3 separate regions of the Homo sapiens genome follow, and regions 1 and 2 are each linked to region 3. The links are contacts of gene promoters, found by promoter capture Hi-C in blood cells and fetal thymus (Javierre and others, 2016). All regions are on one chromosome and are shown on one strand. The core of a region is centred on a gene start or on the middle of the fragment in contact, and the rest is flanking DNA. Distances in the headings are between cores, read along the strand shown.

What was found. The method cuts DNA at HindIII sites, captures the fragments that hold promoters and counts their contacts. A CHiCAGO score of 5 or more calls a contact.
Region 1: a fragment that was not itself captured here is called in contact with the fragment with the promoter of C3orf36 in region 3 in 2 of 17 cell types (total B cells and naive CD8 T cells); the score reaches 8.1 in total B cells.
Region 2: a contact is called between a fragment that was not itself captured here and the fragment with the promoter of C3orf36 in region 3, in 7 of 17 cell types (naive B cells, total B cells, non-activated CD4 T cells and 4 more). The highest score is 9.6, in naive B cells.

What each region holds. Positions count from the first base shown.
Region 1 is chr3:132,709,700-132,713,592 of GRCh38, forward strand. It overlaps NPHP3 (nephrocystin 3), which reads right to left. Exons shown (of 27, transcript NM_153240.5): 6 at 3,427-3,587. NPHP3-ACAD11 (NPHP3-ACAD11 readthrough (NMD candidate)) reads right to left here. Exons shown (of 45, transcript NR_037804.1): 6 at 3,427-3,587. Among named protein-coding and RNA genes, the nearest start is that of NPHP3-AS1, 10 kb to the right of the region's middle. The HindIII fragment of the contact is 2,513 bases long and covers 843-3,355 here.
Region 2 is chr3:132,751,314-132,754,840 of GRCh38, forward strand. All of the region lies in intron 3 of NPHP3-AS1 (NPHP3 antisense RNA 1), which reads left to right. Among named protein-coding and RNA genes, the nearest start is that of NPHP3-ACAD11, 31 kb to the left of the region's middle. The HindIII fragment of the contact is 161 bases long and covers 1,907-2,067 here.
Region 3 is chr3:133,928,076-133,931,655 of GRCh38, forward strand. It overlaps C3orf36 (chromosome 3 putative open reading frame 36), which reads right to left and starts at 1,737. Exons shown (of 1, transcript NR_161373.1): 1 at 70-1,737. The HindIII fragment of the contact is 5,965 bases long and covers 1-3,462 here.

The DNA.
Region 1 (3,893 bases), core at 849-3,348, 1.2 Mb before region 3:
TGTATGTGTAGAAGGGCGATATTGTATGATTCAGAATCTGCAAATTAGACTACTAGCCCAAAATATTAAAAATTAAGAAACATTCTGTTGTATATTTCTGCGCCAATCCATTCTACCCAAACCACAGAAGTTTTCTATATTAAAATCACTCTGGCCATGTTCTATCGAATTTTGGAATTTCAATGATTCATCTGTCAGTGCTTTGTGGGAAAAGTCTGTGGCCCATTAGAAGACCAAACAATGGGCTTGCTGTTCAGGCACACGTCCATATTTCAAGGCATTCCCTACAAAACTGACCCATGGGGCTCAGATAAAATGGTATGATCTCTGGTATTTTATTCAAATAATCTGGTGGAACGGAAGCAGATGCTACAGATGAAACAACGAGTCATGAGGTGATAATTGCTGAAGTTAGATAGTATAACAGGCCAGCTAATATGTTGATAAGTTGCACTTTAGGATCCCTTCAGAAAGTAGCCTGAGCAGACAAAAATGTAGGGGAGGAGCTGCAAGAGAAGATGTAGCTTTGTGGGGCTGGAGGAGTTAAAACAGTAAAGCTGAGGCATAATGAAGAAAGTTCAAGTATAGAACAAACAAGGGCTTCCACTTGCCTAAATTCTATAACGAAACTCTATAGGTGATCTGGTAAAAAAAAAAAAAAAGCTGAATGAAACCAATAATAGGGCCTAAGAAGTCCTGAAAGGTGACTGAATTACTATTTAGGCACGGAAGCCTCCCCATCCCTTGAGAAAGACTGATGATGCCCTGAGGAAAACCAGTCACAGTCGCCCCTCTGTGCTGCTGTGCAAAGGGAGAGGCACCTCTCCTTCTACGTAGGTTCAAGCTTTCTTAGTGAGTCTGGTCTGCCCAACAAGGGTGCTGATGTAATGAAAGAGGGCCAATCATGAGCAAAGAATTCCTCATTTTTAAACCTTTATCTGGAATATTCCTACTCAGCCAGCCTCTCCCGGACTCACCCTATTTCAGTTCCCATTCTTCGTTGTAGGAGATTTCTCCCGGGATTTTTCTCCTTCCATGAAGTGAGGCTGGTCAAATTAAAGGCATTAAAGAAGAACCCCTGGAAAAGCAGTGCAGGAGCCTGGCCGTTTCCCTCTAATGCACCTTCTCCAGTCAGTAACACCGAGAGGCACAGTGCCTGTGCACCTCACTAAGCATGACTTCCTGCCTACCTTCCCAGCCTACAACTAAGTATGTTGTTAGCATAGCTTGCTCCAAATCCAATCATTTCATACATCAAAACCATACATTTTGAGCTTCATAATTTCTTATAAGAGGCCTGAATAGTGTGAGAAGCCAGTGAACACTATCTTCAAATAACTCTGTGGATACCATCTGCACACAGGGAATAATTATTGACAGGAAAGTGTTTCCCCATGGAGCTTCCAAGCTGCTCAGGAGAGGCTTTTCTAGATTCATCTTTTGGGAAGGATGGGGTAGTCATCAGGGTAGGCGAAGGAAAAATCTGAAACAAAGGCTCCAACAGCCCTTGTTTGTGGTGTGGAGCCCATCCCCACTGCCATACCTCTTGACAGGCATGAAAGAAACAAATAATAAAATAATAAGCAACTGGAATAAGAAAAGTTTAAGTAAAATAAAGCCAAAGTAGAGACTAAAATTATTAAATTTAAGAAATTAAAATCCTCATTTCTTTAATAAGAATAAAATTTTTAAAAATGTACAATATAAAATTTTACTAAAAGGGGATAAACTGAAATCTAAGCAAAAGTAATAAAATATGAAATAAATGGGGAGGAAAACATTAAGAAGAGTTTAAAATTGGAAAAGAAAAATAAATGTTAAAGTGTAAGAATAATGTATACAATGTTTTATTAAAAAGTAAGGTTTTTGTTTGTTTGTTTTTGAGACAGGGTCATACTCTGTCACCCAGAAAGTTTCTTTAATGTAAAGAAAAAACAAAATGGTTTTATGGATCAAAGATAAGAATTAGAAAAAATAATGTAACAACAAATAACATATTACCAAGTAAGATAAAAAAACTACTCAATCATTAAGTAATAAGATAAGATATATCCTTAATAAATATAAAAACAGGGAAAGAAAAGGGAAGGGGTGGATAGCAATGAAACCCTACTGAAGGCAATCAAGTTGAAGAACTCCTTAAACATATTCTGGATGAAGGCTCATTGACCAGGTAGTTCCCTGTTCACCCGGCCACTAGGCAAAGTCTTAAGGGTCTACAATGGGTTATGCTACAGGGAAACTGGTGAAACTTAAGGCCTTACATATATCTATACACAGTTAAAGTCAGAGTTGGTCCACAATTAAAAAAGCAAAATGCTTTGGAAAGGTTAAATTTAGACAGTAAATCTAGAAAGAAAAATTAGCCTCTTATTAAACTTATTTTGTCCTTTATCTCTATATCTAACTGGTGAAAAAAAATCTTTACTTGCAGACAAGATTCATTAGCATGATTATATTCACATTATAAGAACATTGTTCACTTTACTGGGTCTATTTAAATAGTAAGCTCCTCAAAAAATGTAAATTATGATTCAACACCTACACAAGTGATCAAGTACATGAACTTTATATGTAAAATACATAGTTCAAATACCTCTCAGTTTGTATCCAAAGAAAGAAAAGAATGAAGGTTAATGTTGATTATTGAAATTAGGGGTTATCAACTTTTTCTGTAAAAGGCCAGATAGTAAACAACTCAGGTTTTGTAGGACACATGGTTTCTGTTGTAAAGATTCAACTTTGCTATTATAGTATGAAGGCAGCTGTAGAAAATACACGAATGGGCCAGGTGTGTTGGCCTACGCCTGTAATCCCAGCACTTTGGGAGGCCAAGGCAGGGGGATCACAAGGTTAGGAGATTGAGACCATCCTGGCTAGCACAGTGAAACCCCATCTCTACCAAAAATACAAAAAATTAGCCAGGCGTGGTGGTGGGCGCCTATAGTCCCAGCTACTCAGGAGGCTGAGGCAGGAGAATGGTGTGAACCTGGGAGGTGGAGCTTGCAGTGAGCCGAGATTGCGCCACTGCACTCCAGCCTGGACGACAGAGCAAGACTCTGTCTCAAAAAAAAAAGAAAAAAAAATTTATATATATATGAATGAATGAATGTGGCTGTGTTCCAATAAAACTTTATTTACAAAAGCAAACTCCTGGCTAGATTTGGCCCTTGGGCTATATTTGCCAAACTCTGATTAAAATAAGCTAAAAATTAAGGTGTTGATCATATGACCTATGAAACAAGTCTAACAGCTTAAAACTTTTAATTATTTTATTTAAGTGTGAAACAGTTGTAGAATTTATTGAATTTCATGGATTTTTTTATTATAAGGATGCAATAAAATTTATCTTTGAAGCTTATTTGGCAAACTCAATTCTATTTACAGTTTACTGCTTATAATAAATTACATTTTTTTTCAGCTTACCTTGGTAATGTTAAGTGAATAAATAAAATAACTAAAGAACTTTTCTCAATTTCCCATTTTCTTACAGTGAGGTATTGATTTTCAACATCTATTGGAAAATAAACAGCATGGAAAAAATATCCCATTGTCTCGCACATTCTCTTAAGTTTAGGTGAATAGTCCTAAAAACAAATGAAAACATACAAAAGTTTAATGTATTTAACTAAAGATCAAGTGAGATTCATACTACTTAAAATAAAAAGCACGCTTTAAAACAGGTTATACTGGATATCTTTTCATATAAAATTTTAAAAATAATCACATTTTAAAGAAAATCTTAAAAAGGCAAGTTTCTCTCAAATACAAATAATAATAGCTTAGCAACTTGGCCTTTTTCTAGCTCAGAAAATGACTTATTTCATAGTAAAGCTAGAACAACAGGAGACAGTATTAGGCTATTTTGCTTTGGTATTTGTTTCTTTTTGTTA
Region 2 (3,527 bases), core at 737-3,236, 1.2 Mb before region 3:
AGTACTATAAAGACATTTGGAAATATATCAGTAGGAAAATTTCAGAGACAGGAAAAGCTAGCAATAGTGAGCTAAGCATAATGCCTTTTACCAGGATGGTAGAGTCAGAATTTTCATCTTTGGCCTGCTCAGCAATTACTGTGTTCAAGAACGGGTCCCATGTTTATCTTCTGCCTGTTTCCCCATGTATAAAATACAGATACATATTAAAATTTTATGAGACTCCTAGATGATGTCAGTATAATTAAATGCAAAGTATGCCTATAAGCTATTTTAGCATACATGTTATGTGGAAAGTACAGAACCATTTTCTTTCCTTTTATATATTTGTAGGAGATAAAAATGTAATAAAATGCATACATTATTATACTTTTATGGTAAAACTAAATTTATTATATTAAAAACACAATTCCCTAAAAGAAAAGATATTATTATTGAAAACAGATGTAATTGTATTGAATGTAATACCCTGGGAAAATTAAACAAGAAAGACACCTTAATTAATGAAAAGGATTCATTCTAAATATACCCTTTCTTTATCAGACACAGCTATGCTTTCTGAAACCTCACCCCTCTTGTTAGTTAATAGCAGAATTCACAAATGTTCTTTATGAATTTAAAGTGTTTTACTTATATCATGTTGCTTTCTTTGGATTATGAAATCATAGATTCCTTATAGACCTGGAAGATTTGAAGACCTTCTTGTCTAGTTTTATAGTTCTGAGAACTGAGGCCCAAGAAATTTCAGTATTTTCTCAAAAACTAGTTATTTACAGCTCGCGGTGGCTCATGTCTGCAATCCCAGCACTTTGGGTGGCTGAGGTGGGTGGATCACGAGGTCAAGAGATTGAGACCATCCTGGCCAACATGGTGAAACCCCGTCTCTACTAAAAATACAAAAATCAGCTGGATATGGTGGTGCGTGCCTGTAGTCCCAGCTATTCCGGAGGCTGAGAGAGGAGAATCCCTTGAACTTGGGAGGCGGAGGTTGCAGTGAGCTGAGATCACGCCACTTCACTCCAGCCTGGTGACAGAGCGAGACTCCGTCTCAAAATCAATCAACCAAACTAACTAACTAACTAGTTATTTCCAAAAAACGAATGCTAGGGCCCAGACCAGAACCTGAAATCTCTTGCTCTCTACTCTGGAGTTCTTCCATAGCTCCCACACTGAGTAAAGGAAGTTAGTAAGTAAATTCAAAGCACAGCTACCTCAAAAATGAAAAACAGAACACTTCAAAATGTGTACTTTTTAGCATAAGATCCATTATCCAAGAGCCTAATGCTTTCTTGTTCTAACACAATGATTTGATTGTGTTTCCAATATACAGGTAATAGGAGAGTAGTATCCAAACTCTAGCATGTGGAAAATTGTGTGTTCAAAAAGAGGTATAAATTATGGCTTTTAGATAGTATATTTGTCATTTACCTATAGAGTGGCTTCTGTTTTACAAGACTTTCTACCAGATGTCACAGGGCAAAACTTTTGGAGGTATTTTCCATTTGCTACTTAATAAAAAATATATGTATACATCTGAAGCCCTCTTTTAAATTTACTTCAAAGGAAAAAATATCTGCTGCAAAGACTCTTCAGATTATTTATGAAAAATGAATTGTCATTTCATCTTAGAACAAGGTAAACAAAGCCATATAAAGCATTGCTCAGAACTGTCAGAGATGCATACAGCTTTTAAATCAGAAGGGAGACTTACTGCTGCATTTTAAGCCAGTGCTTTGTTATGCCACACTATGTAAGTAATTGAAATGATGAATGAAAAACACAACGTTCTAGCATATATAGTGATAAACATGCTATCAACACTCTTGTTAACTACCGCAGAGCATGACAAATGAAACTGATCCACTGACCTTTGTGAAATAAACTACTATCTGTAGGCTGTGTGGAAAGCTTGTTAGATGGACTGTTGTTTGGACAACATATAGTTTTAGTAGCTATCAATAAAAAAGGACTCAATTAAATGCTATTAATTTAGTGACTTCCCCTGAAAACATGTTTCATCCACATAAAAGTATCTCTATAGACTTATTGGAAGATAAGAGAGTCTAAAGCTTTTTGAGAATCTTTCTGAAAATTTATCAGGAAATAAGATATTGAGTGCAGAATTGTTGAGGAACAGTCAATATATTTAACTGTATTTAACTCAGTGAGCCCAGCTTAGCAAAGCTGCTTGGTTTTTCTTTCTTTCTTTCTTTCTTTTTTTCTTGTCACACACTCTTATGGGATATTAAAGTGTTCTAATTAAATTATCATTGAGTAAACTACAGTATCAGTACTGGCAGTCATCTTTTCCATTTTCTTAAATTAAGTGTTTATTGTTTGTTCTTTGAAAACTTAGGCCAATGAATATTTGCATAGATGGCATAAATGAATTGGTGTAGGCTTTCCACTCTAAGCCCATTTCGAAGGTGAATAAGCTCAGCTGTGGAGGGAGAGTATCTTCAAGTTCCTTAGCAGGTTGAAAGGGTAAATGGCAGAAGGCACAATATCTAGAATTCAGTTGCTGGCACCAAGTCCAGAGTTCTCTCTATGACCCAATGTTAAGAATGAGTTTCATCTATAGAAGCACTGGGCAAAAGTAAAACTTGGTGTTTTCATTTTGTCACATTTTTCTTAATGGAAATAGGAACAGATATGTTAAATAACTAAATTTACCAAACAGTTCTTTTTTGGGAGTTAATTCAGCAGGAAACCTCTTATAGTTTCCCCTTTCTAGGTCAAGAGAAAAACATTCTAACAACACTAGGGGATTTTGAAGTACATATCATATCTCCCAAAAGAGAATTATGCAATCAGAAAAATGATTGCTTAACTTATGATTAAAGAAATGCAGACTACATTATGACAGCCTAGTGCATTGCCAGTCTAGCTTTGACATTAACTTGACATGTGTCTCAGTCCAGTGAGTTGATCCCACAGAATTATTTTTTTGCCCTATGTTTTATGATGCTTACAGAAAAGAATGATGTTGGCTGCACCAAGAGCAGCATGAAGGGTCTTCACTGTGCAGAGCAGTAGCATGGAGTGGGGACACATACCCTCTGCAGGGATAAAGATAGTTCCTGACGAATATCAAAATAAGGTGACCACTCTATGGTAATTACCTGGCAAATTCTGCCCCCAAACGGAACATTTTGTTAAATTAGAGAAGACAACATTTCCTAACATGAGACTGTTTAAGAATTTAACCTCAACTCTAATGGGAAATAGAAGCACAAACAGAATGACAGTGGTCACCTAGAGTGGCAACTATCACCCAGTGTTCTGAGGATTATGTCTATTCAGATTGAACTTTAGATTTGCACTTGTAAACATTCAGCAACCAGGAAAGGCTATTCCATTGGAACCAACACTAACCATTCCCAGAACATTAATCAAAGACCACCAAGTCAGCCGGGCGCGGTGGCTCACGCCTGTAATCCCAGCACTTTGTTTTATTGACTAATGTTTTATTGAACCCAGGTTATTATAGTTAATGGACAAAATTTTAACCCTTTTAAGCCCTAATA
Region 3 (3,580 bases), core at 487-2,986:
TACGTCTCATCCAGAACCCCCAGTCTCTCTTTTGTAAGCTGGCGGTCATGAGATGTAATGAGGAAAAGGTTTAAACAAATGTTGGTCCCTATCTGGGACCTCTGAAGTCACTTTTAATGGATTTGGGGATTTTACAGATTTAAAAAGGGGTGCCTACTGTGGCCCATTTATAGACCTGTGGAGCGAAGAGAAGGAGATTAGTCACACTGGGGGCCGGAGTAGAAGCCGTTTTAAATTAGTTGCCCCGCTCTGCCTTGAGACTGAGACTTTCTGACTCTCAGTTTCACCCTTGGGTTCCAGCACCCAGATGAGAAGAGAGAGAAGGTGGAAGAGGAAGAGAGGGAGGGGATAGAGCAGCGGCCACCACCTCTCCCTGAGAGGGCGCAGAGTGGGTGGTTCCCCCCAGGTGAGCAAGGTGGGGGCCCCGTGGGTGTGCTGGGTAGGGGTGGAGTGTGCTGGGAGCACGCGGGAGGACTGCGCCTCTGCTCCTCGGGGTGTGGCGCGGCCCACTCAGGAGCCCCTTCCAGTGTAGACTCCAGGAGGGTACTCTGAGCTAGGAATGCCTTCCTGAGCGTGGTTGGTGGGGGCTCTAAGGCCATTCCTCCAGGCCCTGAGGGGGCAGAGAGACACGTGAGCACTAACCCAGGAGCCGGGACTAGGCTGAGCCCACTACTCACAGCCTGGGGTAAGCCAGCCTCAAGACCCTCCAGGATGGTCTCAGCCTGCATCCGACTGCCTCTCCTGCCTGACCACTGCGCTCCTTCACAGGCCTCTGGCCGGCGAGTTCTCAAGATGTGCAAAGGTTTCCTGCTTCCTTACCTTTGCACACCTTTGCTTATTCCTTTTGCCCAGAAAGTCTTTCCCAGCACATTTGACTCTCTTGAATTCCAGTCTCTCCCGCATGGCTAGGATCAAGCCCGTTCTCCCATCGCTCATCAAATGAACTCAGAGCATAGTACTTTGCCCTGTGTTAAGGTCTTGTCTTAGCTCTGGATTATATGTCCTTGAAGGGTAGGGACCATGTGTTTGTCACCACCTGTCCTTATACACATCAGGTAGTACATAAATCAAGGGAGGCGTGAGGGACAACTGGAAGGAGCCTCGTTTTCTCCATGTACAGGATGGGACTAGTCATAGTGGCCGCACAGGGCTGTGGGAACTCTGGTGCGATTCTGCCATGAGTCACCCCATCTCCTCCTTGCCTGCAGGGTCTCGCTCCATCAGCTGTCCTCTTGGACCCCGCAGCCTCCCCATCCTGTGGCCTTTTGCCCCAGCAAATCTCTCCTCTCTGAAGCCATCCTTTCCTTGACCCTGCATCTCTCTCAGCCACCACCCCATCTCTGCCTCCTCTGAGCAAAATCGTCTTTCCCACCTCCCCAGCCCTCTGCAGACTGCCTCGGCCTTGCCTGGGCATCATCCCCTCAGCTTCAGGGACCCACAATTGGTGCTTCCTCCATTGGGAAATCTTTCCAGACTGTGCTTCCCAACCCCGACAGCCCCGCAAAGCTGGTTTAAGTGTCCCGGTGAGCAACTGTGTCCACCTAGGTTCACTACCCACAGTAGAGGGTTTTAGTGCTCAACCATATCTGCTCTTTTCTTCTCCTGAGCACACAGAATATTCTGTTCCGCTCTTGCGGCAGCTAGGCTGGGAGCAGAGTGAAGAGCGTTACTTTGGGACAAAGCATTGCTTAGCAGTGCGGGATCTTCCAGGACTTTCTTCCCCTGCCCCATCCATCATGGCAGCTTATAATGAAATGGAGGTACCTCAGGTTCCAAACAGTCTGAGTTACTGAGACACTGGTTGGGGGGGCTCTCAGGCCAATCCTCCAGGCCCTGAGCAGGCAGAGGGGCACTACTGAGCCACTGACCTGAGAGTCACCCAGATCACCACAGGTTCTGTGAGCGAGATACCATCTTTTGTTGTGTCAAGTGACTAAGATTCGAGAGGTTTGTTACCACAGCATAGCCAAGCCTTTCCCCACTGATTTACTGATTAAAGAAGTGTTTTAAATGGGTTAATGGCTTGGTAAACTGTAAAGATCTGTGCACATTTTAGTTATTATTATTGCTGTCAAGTTGTAGCAGGGCTGGAGACATGATGTGGCTGGAGAGTGGAGGAATGGCCAGGGTATGCCATGGAGAAAAACTTCCTCTCATTTATGATTTGCCAAGGGCTTTTCCAGGATCTGTTTCCATATTTAATCTCTGATGAAAGGTTATAATGAATCTGGTGTCTGGTGCTACTGGCAGGAGATGGACCTTTCTTCCAGGTATTTACTTCCTGTGGTTGCGAAAGATAGGATGTATTTCTTCTGGATTTGCTGCAATATAATATTTTAGTATCAATTTGATACTGACTGGCTTCAGCCTCCAGCTTAACTGTATCTCTCCATCTTTGAGAGTGGTTGAATAAAATCACAATATGGCTTTGTTTCTTGAGCAAGAATCTGCTAAGCAGTCACCAGATGGAGCTGTTCCCTTGAAGGTCTGTGTGCAGGATTCTCAGGGCCTTTTCTTCTCAAAACCCTTCCCTCTTTGTCTCTTTTCTCCACAACTCTCTTTAACTCATGGTGCTATAGGGATAAATTGGCCCTGTTTAATGAATAGTTGTGATGTTGTTGCTAGTTGAATAGAAGGTAAGTAAATGAACTGTTACCTGGTTCTTTTGCCTTTGTTACCCACCTTAATGGCCCTCAAGAGATTCCCCCACTTCCCTCCCATGGGCCAGTGAACATCAGTGGGAAAAGAGGGGCCTCCCCACCATTTTAGTCCATGCTGACTCTTCAGAATGACTCAGCTGGGGCAATTGGGCTGGACCAGAGAGAAGTGGACAGCCTGGTTTGAGTCTAGACCTGGCCAGCTATTATCTATGTGAAATTGGCCACAATGGTTGCTTCCTCGGGATCAGATTCCTCACCTTTACATGGGGCATCCATCATGGAGGATCACCCCAAAGGGCTTTGGGCCAAAGGATAATTGATAGAGATACGGTATTTAGTTATCACTGTATTTGCGCTTTTTCCAAGAAGGGTAAAAGAAGGATTGAATAAAAAAGGTTCCTGCACACTCTTCCTTTTCCGGCTTTTTTGTTCAGCCCTTGAGGAGCGGGATTCTGTAGGGAGAGGGAGTGGTGCAGAGGAGTGGGCTTCCTAGGACTGGGGCCGGGAGAGGGCATAGCCGCGAGTGTGCACAGGGAGGTGGGCCTAACCCTGGGGTCTCGGCTTTGTAGGGTTTCCAGGCTCAGGTGAGAAGCAGGGCCATTAAACAGCCTCAAATGGGAAAGGGACCAAAGACCCACAATGGCACCCTTGAATGCGTAGGCATCCAAGGACCTTCAGATGGCTCTAGGAGCCAGACCCAAGCATGGTTGATATTGAATTTCCAGCCAGACAGTAGGATGGGGGGTTTGAAATCAATAACTGATTTAAAGAAATAAGTGATTTTTTTCTTTTTGCACATCCAAGCTTGTGAAGTGAGAATGTCTCTCTCAGTACTGATAAGGGCCTCATATAAATGTGAGCTCTTGGATTGTTTTTCATGCCCATTGACTCTTAGTTGCAGCCATCCAAAAAATCAGATT